Regions from separate parts of the Homo sapiens genome. Here all the other regions are linked to region 1. Evidence: promoter capture Hi-C in 16 types of primary human blood cells and fetal thymus (Javierre and others, 2016). All regions are on one chromosome and are shown on one strand. The core of a region is centred on a gene start or on the middle of the fragment in contact, and the rest is flanking DNA. Distances in the headings are between cores, read along the strand shown.

Region 1 (3,393 bases), core at 358-2,857:
GATGAACCTAAGACAACTGGCTCAATTTGAATGCCTTTGTTTTCTATTAATTCCTCTTTCTATATTTCACTTGTTGAAGCTCTGACCAGTCACCTGAAAGTTCTAACCAGAATCCTAGGCATCCTTACTCACATGTATTACAAATACCACAGAGCTCTCTAAATTACCAGCTGCTGATTTATGCTTGCTACTATTTGCTTAATCTTTTATACAATAAACATTTAAGAGCCAACTAAACTTTGGCATTAAGGATATAAAAATGAATAGACACATTCAATGCCTTCAGAGCTCCTACCATGATTTCCAGCCTGTGTTGACATGAACTATATTATTTTGCAGAATAGTCTTTTCCTCTAGATTTTAAACTTCTCAAGGTCAGAGACTAAGTCTTCTCTGTCCTCCAATATGTCCAAGGGCACAGAAATGCTAGTTAATACAAGCATGGGGTCTGGGGCTAGAATCAGAACCCAGGCTCTGCAAAAATTACCAGTCAGACAACCTGCATCAGGTTTCATGAACTTCTAGTACTTGTTTCTACATCTGCAATCATGGATTTATGACAGTGTCTATTTCATGAAGTTGAAAATTAAATGAGCAAATACACGAAAAGCATGTGCTATATGGCAAGTTCTCAACAGTTTTAACTATTATTCCTACTGTTTAGGTGAACTTAGAATTTTGAGCAGTCATTCCAAAATAAAAATAGCTTTTAAAATATCACGCTGTAAATTTAAGAAATGTGTGTTGTCCTGAAATCTAATGATTTTCTTTGGTGCATGTGCAAAGGGTGTCACCTTCTCCCGGGAAAGCTCTTCAGAGTATGAGGCACTGTCTTCCTACTGACATGCCATGCGACTTTAATAGGCTCTTTTATTTTCCTTTTCCCCCATCAAGACAAAGAACGGAGAGTAAAAGATCAGCGCACTTGTTTAAAAAAAAAAAAGTCGTGAAAAGGACAACTCGCCAAGGACTATGATGTCTCTGGAGAGGGACACACAAGGATGAAGCTGGTGTATTATCCAACAGGCCCGAGGCCCCAGAGCGAAATGACACCATCGCACCAGGGTCAGGCAGGTCTTGGGGGTGGCATGGGGAAAGGGGACTTCCCAGGGCTCAAGAAAACGTGGAAAAGCGGGCTACTTTTAAATCGGAAAGCCTTGGTGCTTCCTACAAGCAAGTAGGATGGTCCCCACACTTGGGGACGAGTTGGAAGGTTTGATGAATAACTCAGCAGAGCCCGGTCGAGGGGTGACTTCCGATGGAGAAATGTGTTCGCTACTGGAACCAGGTGGGACGAAGGGTGCTTGACATGCAAGAACCTTTAGCCTCAAAGCAGAGGCCAACCCAGGACGGGCAACACAGGAGACCCACGTTCCTCAAATCTGTTCTCCACGTGGGCTCCTGGGACCCCGCACTCACCAAAGTCGTAAAGGTTCTGGAGCAGAGCGTCAAGAAGTGTCGGAGAACTGGGAGGCGTGGAGGACCCCGGCCCTTGCTCCTGCGACATTGTGGGGTCAGCCGAGGAATCAACCCTCATTCTGCCGCGCTGCACCCCCGCTTCCGGGTTCCGCGACTGCGCGCATGCGCTGCAGGGCCCTGCGCGGCTTCCGTCCTGGCTGAGATGGCGGCGCCCGGGATCCTGTGTAGCGGCTGCAGAGGGTGCCGCCGCCCTAGGCGAAGTAGGGCCGTCCTGAGCGAAAGAACCGCCCCCAGCAGGAGCACCACCACGGCTTAGCAAAGAATCCCAGACCCCGCCCGGGAAGGCAGCCGCACCATGGAGTCTTCCAGTTCATCTAACTCTTATTTCTCCGTTGGCCCAACCAGTCCCAGCGCTGTCGTGCTCCTCTACTCGGTAGGCGCCCAGGGAAAAGAGGCCCAGAGCGGAGCCGCGCGAAATAGTACCCCTTTCTCCCAGTCCCTATTCCTCCGGCCCACCACCCTTGCCCAAAAGAGCTGGCCCCTAGGCTCCCGAGGAGGGGTTAGTTGGTTGGATTGGTTTCCAGGACAACAGTGTATCGCTGTGTGTCTGTGTGTGCATGCTTTTGGAAGTTTCTACGGATTATGGTTCCTTTGGTTCCTTTCCACTTTTTCCTTCTCTTTCTTTCTATCAGGCCCTGGGGCCTTCAGAAAGCTCCTGGACACGAGAATGAGGAATGAGAATTGGAGTCTCCCCATCTCTAGCGAGGGCATGTCGAGCTACCTTTTGGGCAAACCTGAGAAACTTGCGGGTTTGACCCGCCCTGAGATAGCCTGTGGCTCCGCACCCCGCCCTATGCTGCTGTTATATTCCTGGGAGTAGAGCACTTGGCTTGTATGTGGGAATAGAGTTTTAAACACTTCAGGAAAATTTAGAACTTCTAGACATTTTTATTGCCTGTTCTTGTCTTCCAGTCATTATTGTACCTTTTCCACAAATCATTTTGGAGGACAGCCAGCGCCACCCAGCTTCTCTCCCGCTTGTCTTTTTTTCCTCCAACCCCCTCTTCCTCTCTTGGTTTTAACGGGTCTTTTTGGCTGGCAGATGTTGGTCACCCACGATTTTCATGAAGAAATTATGAGATGGGAGCTTTATAGCCTTCAGGATTGCACAGACCTGGGGCAACTGGTTTGGTTTTTGTTTGTTTCTTGTTGTTTTTAACCACTAAATTAGTTTTTAGCTACTTTAGGAGAAAATGAAAGAATTCATTTTAAAAGCATATTAGCATATCCTGGTGATTACTGTCCAATTTTGGCTTAAATGTAGTGTTCATTTGTGCAGAAAGGTCAAAACAGGGATAACACAGCAGAGCAAGATAAACACCCCAGTTTTGAAAGAGAATATATGGGTTCCTTCAAATTGAGACACCAATATTCTTTGGAACATGGAGAAACTTCTGTTCCCTCTCTATCAAGACCTTTCGGTTTCTGATTGCTAACTGCCTATAAGCCTTATTATTTAGATATATCTCTTCATTGATCTTATCTTCCCCACAGTTCTGTGGTGGATATCAACTTTGTTTTCTGACTCTGCTACTCCAGAGCAGGCACGAAGGGAAGAGGGTTGCTGTGCAGATCCAGCTTTTAACATGTAGCTTTTTAAGCTCCCAACTGGTTTGTGAATTGGTTGGAATTTTCCTTTTGTACATTAAAGGAAGGAGTTGGTTTTGTTTGTTTGTTTGTTTGTTTTACTTCCCCTTTACCAACGGTTCTTTAATAAGACTTGAGTCCACTTTTTCATGTGAAAAACTATGGCAGTTGTATCTGAGCATTCTGTAGTTCTGATGCTGGACAGCAACCCACTCTTTACTGGTAGTTCTCACTACTGTTTTGTGACTGGATAACCTTTACTTCCACGGTAACCTTACTTTTTCTTAGTACTTCAGGCTGTTTTTATTTCCCCAGCTACGCTGTTAT
Region 2 (3,393 bases), core at 604-3,103, 330 kb before region 1:
GTAGTCCCAGCTACTTGGGAGACTGAGGCAGAAAAATTGCTTGAACCCGGGAGGCAGAGGTTGCAGTGAGCCGAGATCGCTCCACCGCACTCCAGCAATGCATGTATACAATAAAGTTCATAAATACAAATACATATGTTAGTCTTACTTTTTAAGCATTAGAAATGCTGGCCTTCAAAGAAGAAATGCAGAATACATTCTCACAATGTACTAACGGACAGATGGTTTGGAGATTTGGGCATGTGTGTGAACTGCCAGGGCTCCAAGGTGGCTGTTAGAGGCCAGGGGATTGTGGGGTACCTTTGCCTGCTGGCTCGGAGGCTCGTGGGGCAAGGTCTGCTGCCCTGTCACTCCAGAACGAGTGTAGAGCTGCGAGTGTGCAGGTCTGGGGTAGGAGGCATTTGTAAGACGTTGTGCTTCTGCTCTTGGTGAGGGAAGAGAGGGAGCTGACTGGTTTTGGGTGGAAGGGGCTGGCAAAAGGCCATGGGACCCACTATTGTAACCACAGTGTTGTGCTTTTCCCAAAACAAATCGGCTCAAAATAAAGACAGCTCTCACCCATGAGATAATGCATCCTAGCAGGTGGAAAGGATGGCACGAGCACCTGAGAAAGCTAACAAGTGCCATGGGTGGACACCAAGAAAAGTGAGTCAAGGTGATTCATGGGGTTCTCCAGCAGGGAAGACTTCAGAGGCTAAAGACATGTGCTCTGCAACCTCCAGGGTCCCAGGGCTGAAGATGAAAGGGGCAGAGAAGGCAGGGAGATGTGGCAGAGAGCCCACGTGGAAAGCCAAGGGGAAGCAAAAGAGCCACGGAAGAGAGCGGTGCTGCAGCCAAGGCAAACCAGGGCAGGGCAGGGCTAGCACTGCGCACTGTGTATGCTGCCAAGCTCGGCTTAAACCCATGGTTTTCAGAAGGTGCTGGAGAGCCGCAGGGCACAGAGAGGAGCAGGAGCAAAGCTAGCTGTGGCGGGTACAGGGAAGAGAGAAACAGAAGTGTGGGAGGCAGAATCAACAGACTATTTAGGATTGAAGAGATGTAGGGATGAGGCAGAGTTGAGGACAATCAGAGCTGCACGTCCTTCAATGTCACACGTGAGCCAGCAGAGCTGCTGTGAGGACAAAGGACGGATGCTGGCTGTTGAGTACAGTGGGGCCCACAAGCGGTGATGTGCACAGGCCTCACATCCCTTATTCAGTGGACACAACTAGCAATATTATGCTGATAAGACAACATTTATGTTTCTATTTTGTTTCAATGAGTCTTAAATTCTATAACCAAATTTACTACCACACTTAGGGGAGTTTTACTTTCTAAGCCATTAATCAAAGATAAAGACATTCAAGTGTATTATTTTTAGCCAAAACATCTTAAGTTCAACTATGTGCCAGTAATGGCAAAAGGCCATTTACATAATTTACTGCACACAGTGCTGGGAAAAGGAGAATGAAATGAAAACTCTACAGTCATAGCTCTTGTTTTAATGATACCTAAAAAACTCCTGATATACAAGTAGCAAGAATTTATCCAAAATAATAAAAATAGTACAGAGTGACTGTTGGCCCAAAAGTATAAAACATGAGGATTATGGGTCACCTGACAGCCCAAAATGGAAAAGGAAGAGGAGGAGGAAGAGGTTCAGTAAGAGGCTGGCAGATACAAAAAATTAAAACACACTGAGCACGGCACATGATACACAGTAAACTTTCCATGAACTTGTGTTGAATGGATGAATCCCTATCCTATTAAACGTAAGCACACTATATTAGAACTGTCTTCTATAATTCTTTTGCTGATGTGATAGACTAAGGAAATATTTTTTTGTGCAGATTTTGGAAAAAAATAGGGAGCTCCTTACCATTTCTTTGTGTACTCTGTACCTATATCCATAACAGGAAGGATAAGCAAAAAAGAACACATTTCTCAATTTAAAATAATTTTAATGACAGGATATTACTTACCTGGATCCTCGAGAGAGTGGCATTAAATTATAAAAGTAATAAACTAAGGATAAGATTAAGTTGCAGACAGCATCAGCCTCCTAGAAAAAAAAGATACAGACTCATAAATACTATAAAGATTACAAACTAATTTTTCATTAGGTGACAGAACACACAAGAATAATCTACATCAAGAAGAGGATTGTTTTCTTCCTCCCCCATAAGAATCTACTTTTCAAATTCTTGAATATTCTATACCCTTTTGTATCATTTTTTTCCAATTTAGTTCAATTTAGAGCAATGTTTTCCCAGCTGTTTCTTAAACTGCAACTCTTGGATAAACATAAAAATCTCAGTCTCCTTTAACGTTATTTGAAATGTCAAAATATATATTGTGACTAAAATTTTAAAAGGCATTTATTAACACCAAATATGTTCTCTCAAACAACATGTACCTTACCCCAAAAGATCTGGGTAAGCCCCTTCCCCTACTCCGCATTGAGATTTGGATGATGCTCAATTATGTGTATAAACTTAGATGTTTAATTATATGGATGCAGTGATTAAATGTTGGAGAAATAAGGTGACTTTTCAAGGGTAAGGGGCACCCGTCCACTGCAGAACACAGAGAAGGGGCGTGGTGGGGAGAGAATGTCCACCATACCCTGCTGCCTGTAACGACTCCACCTCGAGTCCAAGCAGACAACCAAAGAAGAAGGCCACAGACCAGGAAAGGGCCGCCAAGTGCAAAGTATACACAACTTCATTATACTTTCCTTGCCATTAACTCATCAGAATGCATCATCCAGTTTACATTCAAAAGCTCCTTGTAAATATACGGTTATAAGCAACAACCGCAACGAAGGGAAGAAAATGGAAGAAAAAGGTGAAGCCCAGGTCATTTTCATTATGGACCAGCTTTTTTATATCTTGTCAAAGCCCAAACTTATGATAATGTCATAGTGCAGTACTAAATTATTAATTTATTATCCTCCCCATTACTGTAGTTACTAAATACAAGAATTTTTGCCTATAAGAAATAAGAAATATTTTTAGGTCAATTCAACCCAATTTCAAGCATAAGATGTACAATCTCAGTGAAAGGGCAGAGGTTCAAAAAATTTACAAAAGAATCATAGGAAGAGCAGAAAAATGGAAACAAAGAGAAACCTACCCCAAATTCTGATGAAAGAATCAATACTTTTCCTTTTGCTGTCAAATCTTTATAAAGTGCATCTATTTCAGCATGATATAATTGTGTCCTTTCTTCCGTGGTTTGAGTTTCCACAGAAAATAATATATTGCCAACTCTGAAAATACAAAAATAAGTGTGAAAGGCATGTATTATAAGTTCAAACAGCCAAACACAGAAAGTTTTTTTTAAAAAGCAAATAGCATACTGACGTAGCACTAAACATATACAAGAATGTACCTTACCTTTCTAACTATAGAC
Region 3 (3,393 bases), core at 418-2,917, 310 kb before region 1:
ATCTCTTGAAATGTGTGCTCCTGACTCACGTACCTTTTTAAAAACTAGGTTTGTTACATACATGTATATATACAATATACTCTACAGTTTGGCTTATGAGCTTTGGGAGAAAAAAATATGTGAGAGCACAGCTTACTGACTTGCTGCTTTTATTCAACATTACATTTTACAATTAATCCACATTGTTGCCTCGGTCATTTGTTTATACTGCTGTATAATATCCCATTGTGTGACTGTATCACATTTATCCATTCTTCTGTTGATGGCATTTGGGTTGATTTCCAGTGTTAGCTGTGAACAAATTCTGCTGGCAGACCTGTATAAATCTCTCCTGGTAGACATGTGCACAAGTACAAAGTTCTCTGAATAGACACAGGAACAGAATCTTATATCAAGTATGAGAATATTCAGCTTTACTAGATAATGAAAAACTGCTTTCCAAAGTGGTTGTAGCAACTTATACTCTAACCAGGAGTATAAAAGTTCTCCATAATCTCCCTTATGACCAATATTACTATTATCAGACTTCGTAACATTTGCTCATCTAGTGGCTGAAAAAAATCTCATGAGGCCTTAATTTATGAACTAAAGTATCTCTTCATGTTTGTCATTCATGTTTTCCCTGTGGTAAAATTACTTGTTCATGTCTTTTGCACACTTTTCTATTGGTTGTCTCTTATTTTTTAATTTGTAGTGATACTTCATAAATTTGGACAGTAATTCTTGGTCAGTTATTAAATTTCCAAGTATCTTTATCCAATTTGGGCTTATTTTTCTTTCCTTATGGTGTCATTTGTTGAACGGAAGTTCTTAGGTTCAAGGTAGTCCAATTTATCAACCTTTTTGTTTCAGATCTATGCTTTGTGCTTCTTATGAAATCCTTGTCTACCCCAAAGTCATAAACATCTTCATTTATATTTCCTCCTAAAGTTTAAAATATTTTGCCATTCATACTTCAGATTTTCATCCATTTGGAATTAGATTACTATGCCATCACAAATATCAATTTTATTTTATCCATAAAATAACTTAATTGGCCCACTCCCACATCTTAACCAGTCCCACTCTGATCTCTAACACACCTTTCCCATTTATCTAAGTTATCTATTCTCTTCCTTAGTCCACTTGTCTATCCCTGCAGCAATACCATTCTGTTCATTATTATATTAAGTTTTGCTACCTGGTAAGATGAGAAGCTTCCCCTTCAAGCCTGAGCATCCTCTTCTTTGGGAGTATCTTGATTACTCTTGGTCCTTTGTTCTTCAATACATTTGCTTAACAAGTGCCTCAAAAAAACTTGGGATTTTGAATGGCATTTTATTAAATATATAATTAATTTGCAGATAAATGGCCTACTAATGTTACTGAACTTCCAATCCATGAACATAGTATTTCTCACCATTTATTTGTTTTATCTTAGTAACTTTCAATTAAGTTTTGTGATCTCCATACAGATTTTATACAGATCTTGTAAGATTTACTTCTAAGTATTTGTTACTACTATAAATGATATTTTTGTTGCTTATATATAGAAATGTAACTGATTATTGTATATTGATTATAAACAATGAGCTTGCTAAACTCTCATCATTTCCTATAATTTGTAGATCTTCTAGGTTTCCTTTGTAGAAAACTATGTGATCTGCAAACAATGACAGCTTTCTATTTTCCTTTCTAATCCATATCACTGATTTCTTTTTCTTCTCTCTGTGCACTGTCTAGGACTTGTAGTTCAGTATTACAGAGAAGCACTGATTCTGGGCTTTTTGCTTTGACTCCCAATGGTAATGTTAATGTATCTACCATTTCATAAGTTAAAATGATGTTTGCTATAGGTGTTTTTTGTTTTGTTTTGTTTTTAGAGATGGGGTCTTTGCTGTGTTGCTGTAGTGCGATGGATGGATATTCACAGGCACAAGGATAGTATGCTTGATTGAACTCCTGGCCCCAGGCAATTCTACCTCACCCTCCCAAGTAGCAGGGAGTAGCGTGCCACCATGCCCAGCTTATAGCTCAGTTTTGAGAAAGGAAAAAAAAATCATCTTCATTTAAAGCACTTACTTTATGTGGGGTTGCAACCCTGGCTGCTCTTCGTAGTCTTCTATGAGGAAAGGCAAATTTTTAGCCCAGTGGTCCTTAAAGCTTCCAGGCAGATCCACATCAATGTTATATTCCGTAAGGGGGGTATCAAGGTGTGCATGAAGATATCGAGAATACTCTGCAGAAAGGAAATGAGATCTGACACATCCAAATACTGCTAAAGAAACTTTCTTATGGCTAGCTGCCATACAAATACTTTGTAACAAGCTGTTCTTCAATTATAAGAATTCTAAAGAGTTTCTAAATTTTAGTAAGTCACTATTAGTATATGATAGAGGTAACCTGCCACTGACTTGAGATAACAAGGTCAAATATAAGTCAGTCAGTCTGGGTCTACTTTGGCTACATTTTTTTTTTTTGAGACGGAGTCTTGCTCCAGCCCAGGCTGGAGTGCGGTGGTGCAATCTTGGCTCACTGCAAGCTCTGCCTCCTGGGTTCAAGCCATTCTCCTGCCTCGGCCTCCCGAGTAGCTGGGACTACAGGCACCCGCCACCATGCCCAGCTTATTTTTTGTATTTTTAGTAGAGACAGGGTTTCACCGTGTTAGCCAGGATGGTCTCGATCTCCTGACCTTGTGATCCGCCTGCCTCAGCCTCCCAAAGTGCTGGGATTACAGGCATGAGCCACCGCGCCTGGCCTAGTTTGGCTAAATTTTAATCACCTTTCCAGGAAAACCACTAAAAATCTCATTGTTTTCAATTCCAGAGCTTAAGAATCCAAGTTCAGTCTCAGATAGAGCCTGGTACTCTGTCAACTGGTATATAGATTGATTGGGTATATAATTTCACCAACCGACTAATGGACTGCTGCTTATCTCTATGAAAGCAGTGTAGGAAAAAACCCAAAGTACAGAATACCTGCCCCTTCTGCCTATAATTCACAAGCGCAAGCTCCACTGAACCAGAAAAAAGGGAATTGTAATTCAGGTAGAAGAAAGATGTTCTCTAATAGGTAGCCCCTAGCCACCTGGCTATTGGATACTTAATGAGGCTAGGGTGATTGAAACTGAATTTTAAACTTTATTTAATTTGAATTAATTTAAACTTACAAACTGATACTTGATTCAATCATCAGAAAACTTCAGTGCATGTGGAACAACTTACACATATGAACCTACTTTCTTAACTATAAATATTATAAATTCTAAATTCAGATCAAGTATTTCCAATGAAAATTTAACATCCAAATTGAGATGTACTATAGCATAAACTATACATCAGATTTCAAAGACTTAGTACAACAAATAATGTAAAGTATCTAATGAATAGCAGCTTCATATTAATTATGTTATAT
Region 4 (3,393 bases), core at 523-3,022, 290 kb before region 1:
ATGATAACTAATGAGCTAAAAAAAAAAAAATATCATAATGTTTTAAGAAACTTTACAAAGCTGTGTTGAGCCACATTCAAAGCCATCCTGGGCTGCATGTGGCCCATGGGTTGGACAAGCTTGCTTTAGGATAACATACATCTCCAGGAAGAACCAAACCTATGCTCAGATTTGTTATGGTTCAAAATATATTATCCAAGCTGCTTTTCTCCTAACAGAAAAAAGTTTACTCCAGATGACCAAGAGGTGAATCAGAAAAAGATGTAAATAAGCAGTTATTCTACAAATACAACTGGCATCCCCGCACACCCGTGGCCGGGGCTGGTGCTCTGGCATCCTCCTGCTCTCCAGGTCACACACCCCTCACCAAATCCTGGCCATCTCACCTCCTGAACAGATCAGCATCCTCCCACCCACTCCATCAGCCACTGCCCTATTCTAAGCCTTCCTCTCTCACCTAGGATACTGTGATCACCTTACCTGTTCCCATTTCTTCCTATCTATTCTCCAGATATACACCAAGAGTTATCTTTCTAACACTAAAGTCTCATCATATCATTTCCCTAACTGAAATTATTCAGTGACTCCCCAACACCTAATACAGTGACATTCAAACTTTTTAAACTCCAAATCACTGAAATACATTTTACATTACAATCCAGTACACACATACACATGTGCACAATATATACACACATGTATCAGAAAACAGTTTCAGTAGGTTATACCTAGGACTTCCTATACACAATGGAATCTGATATTTTCTAGTCCAGCATATTTCACTTAAAAAAAAAAGTGCTAATCTTGACTTGCCAATTAATTTCAGGACCCACTAAAGGGTAGCAACTCACAATACAAAAAAAAAAAAAAAAGGTAACATCTAAATGGCTCTGCAGAAAATATTAATCATTTTCCTGCTTACTGTTCAGCCTCATCTCCTTCCTCTTTTTTTTTTTTCTTTTCATAAAGACAGGGTCTCACTCTGTCACCCATGCTAGAGTACAGTGGTGCAAGCCTAGCTCACTACAGCCTCAAACTCCTGGGCTCAAACTCCCACCTCAGCCTTTCAAGTACCTGAGGCTATAGGAGTGCACGATCACACCAGGCTAATTTTAAAATTTTTTTGTTGAGATGGGGGTCTCACTTTATTGCCCAGGCTGGTCTCAAGCTCCTGGGTTCAAGCAATCCTCCTGCTTCAACCTCCCAAAGTGCTGGGGTTACAGGCGTGAGCCACCACACCCAGCTTCACTTCATACCCTAGAAATCAGAATCATTTAATAATTCCCTACATACAAGATGCTTTCCCAAATGCAGTGCATTTGCAAATGCTATCCCCTCTGTCTGAAACACTCACCCATTGCCTCGGTCCCCAAGAAATTCCTTTGATCCCTTAAGTCTCAGTTCAAACACCACCTTTGGATTCCTTCCAGACGCCCCTGGAAAATAAATATGCTCCTTCTCCTTTATTCCCACTGTTCACTGTATGGATGTCAGCCATTCATTCCACAATTATTTACTCAGGGCCTACTGTTAGCTATCTCAGGTTCCATGTGCTAGGAATACCATGCAAAGTCATGCTATTCTTGCCACATACTAGGAATAGCAAGCAAAAACCAACACAGAAGACAAAGATTTGCCTATCAGATCAAAGTCAGCTCTGCTAAGCCTATTCTTCCCAAAGGGAAGCAAGCAGGACAACATGGCTAATAATAGTGGGGTGCAGGTCAATGGAAAACAAGAGCCCGATCCAGGGTAACAGGAAGGCAAAGCTCTATGACAGATGTGCCACAGTGAATGACGTATGGTGGCCCTCCAGCTCTTGCAGCTGGAACATTTTTATAGTAATAAAAATTTTAAATTAAAAAAAAAAAACAGCCATTCAAAAATTTGCAACAGCTGAAATATCCGAACACTGACAACTTCCTAAAGGTAGCCATCATCATCTTGACTGCAGGATTGGATGTGTGCCCCACACAGAGGCCCTCGCACGGGCCTCCCCTCAAGTCACCCCATGGTCTCATCATTACTACAGCACTGAATTGATTACTGTGCTTATCTGTAAAGTATTTAGGTTTTCTCTATTCAATTTATTCTTTCCTTTTTTTTTTATTTTTTATTTTTGAGACGAAGTCTCGCTGTCGCCCAGGCTGGACTGCAGTGGCGCGATCTTGGCTCACTGCAAGTTCCACCTCCAGGGTTCACGCCATTCTCCCGCCTCAGCCTCCTGAGTAGCTGGGACTACAGGCGCCAGCCACCATGCCCAGCTAATTTTGTTTTTGTATTTTTAGTAGAGACGGGGTTTCACCATGTTAGCCAGGATAGTCTCAATCTCCTGACCTCGTGATCCGCCCGCCTTGGCCTCCCAAAGTGCTGGGATTACAGGCCTGAGCCACCACGCCCGGCCCAATTTATTCTTTCTTTTTAGAATTTTTTCCTAACAGTCAAGAAGGACATATAATTATTGTGGCTGTTATATCTACAGTCTAGTATTAAGCCTTCCTAAATTTAAATAACAGATTTTATTACTTTTAAAAGTTGATACAACTTTATTTATTATTTTATCTATCATTAGCTAAAAGCCAAAAACTTTTCTTTATGGAATGCCATAGTAAATTATTGGGTTTTTCCAAATAAAAACCAACGTTTATTCCTAAAAACAAATTAGGCTCTGAAGAGCAATTTTTCAAAATATTTTTATAATATTTATACTTTATAAAGTTTTCAGAAACTTTTTAAAAAGTTTCTTTAAAAAGTTTCTATACTCTTAAAAAGACTGAAATGAAAATGAATACTTCAATCTTCCAATTTTACTTTATGCAACTGCAAAATCATGGTATAACAGTTGCCTAAATGGTGTTGTGTCTACTTAGATGTCTCAATTCGCAAAAAAAAAAGAGTCTAATATATTATCCTCATTTCATTACTTATATAGTGACTTTAAATTTTACAGTATTTACTGTATTTACCACTACAAGGCTGGCTTTTTTATTAAAACTGGGAAGTCACTGGATCTAAAAACAAACAAGTCGAAACAGTCAGTAGATAAGCAATGTAATGAGGATTAGATTTCACCTAAGTGACGAACACACATATTTACATAAAGGATGTTATTTAAAATTCTATGCAGAGGAATGTTTCCAATTTTGTATGCTAATGTAAAATAGGAAGTAATATTCTTTTACAAGTTCAGTTCCACTGGAATCAGATCAAAATCAGATGAGCTCAAGGTCACATAATAAATAGCAAAGGCCAAATTATCTCATAAAATTGTTGAAGCATTTATGTTAAACCCATCCCTGCATGAGGACCAAAGCAGCACAGAAATCAGGAAAAAGTTCTACTTTTCAACTCAAGAACACTATTACTGATGCACTGACACACATGGAAATGACT

Evidence for each region. The method cuts DNA at HindIII sites, captures the fragments that hold promoters and counts their contacts. A CHiCAGO score of 5 or more calls a contact.
Region 2: a contact is called between a fragment that was not itself captured here and the fragment with the promoter of GNPAT in region 1, in 12 of 17 cell types (naive CD8 T cells, naive CD4 T cells, neutrophils and 9 more). The highest score is 11.4, in naive CD8 T cells.
Region 3: a contact is called between a fragment that was not itself captured here and the fragment with the promoter of GNPAT in region 1, in 6 of 17 cell types (M1 macrophages, naive CD4 T cells, non-activated CD4 T cells and 3 more). The highest score is 6.5, in M1 macrophages.
Region 4: a contact is called between a fragment that was not itself captured here and the fragment with the promoter of GNPAT in region 1, in 3 of 17 cell types (total B cells, activated CD4 T cells and M2 macrophages). The highest score is 5.5, in total B cells.

The regions. Positions count from the first base shown.
Region 1 is chr1:231,239,605-231,242,997 of GRCh38, forward strand. GNPAT (glyceronephosphate O-acyltransferase) reads left to right here and starts at 1,608. Exons shown (of 16, transcript NM_014236.4): 1 at 1,608-1,852. The coding sequence starts at 1,775. FSAF1 (40S small subunit processome assembly factor 1) reads right to left here and starts at 1,571. Exons shown (of 7, transcript NM_152379.4): 1 at 1,420-1,571. The coding sequence starts at 1,537. RefSeq lists enhancers at 1,301-1,640, 1,621-2,510. The HindIII fragment of the contact is 8,993 bases long and covers 1-3,393 here.
Region 2 is chr1:230,909,509-230,912,901 of GRCh38, forward strand. TTC13 (tetratricopeptide repeat domain 13) reads right to left here. Exons shown (of 23, transcript NM_024525.5): 19 at 3,115-3,250; 20 at 1,962-2,041. Among named protein-coding and RNA genes, the nearest start is that of C1orf198, 43 kb to the left of the region's middle. The HindIII fragment of the contact is 7,430 bases long and covers 1-3,393 here.
Region 3 is chr1:230,926,876-230,930,268 of GRCh38, forward strand. TTC13 (tetratricopeptide repeat domain 13) reads right to left here. Exons shown (of 23, transcript NM_024525.5): 12 at 2,062-2,218. Among named protein-coding and RNA genes, the nearest start is that of TTC13, 50 kb to the right of the region's middle. The HindIII fragment of the contact is 946 bases long and covers 1,195-2,140 here.
Region 4 is chr1:230,947,545-230,950,937 of GRCh38, forward strand. The region is part of intron 4 of TTC13 (tetratricopeptide repeat domain 13); the gene reads right to left. Among named protein-coding and RNA genes, the nearest start is that of TTC13, 30 kb to the right of the region's middle. The HindIII fragment of the contact is 3,311 bases long and covers 118-3,393 here.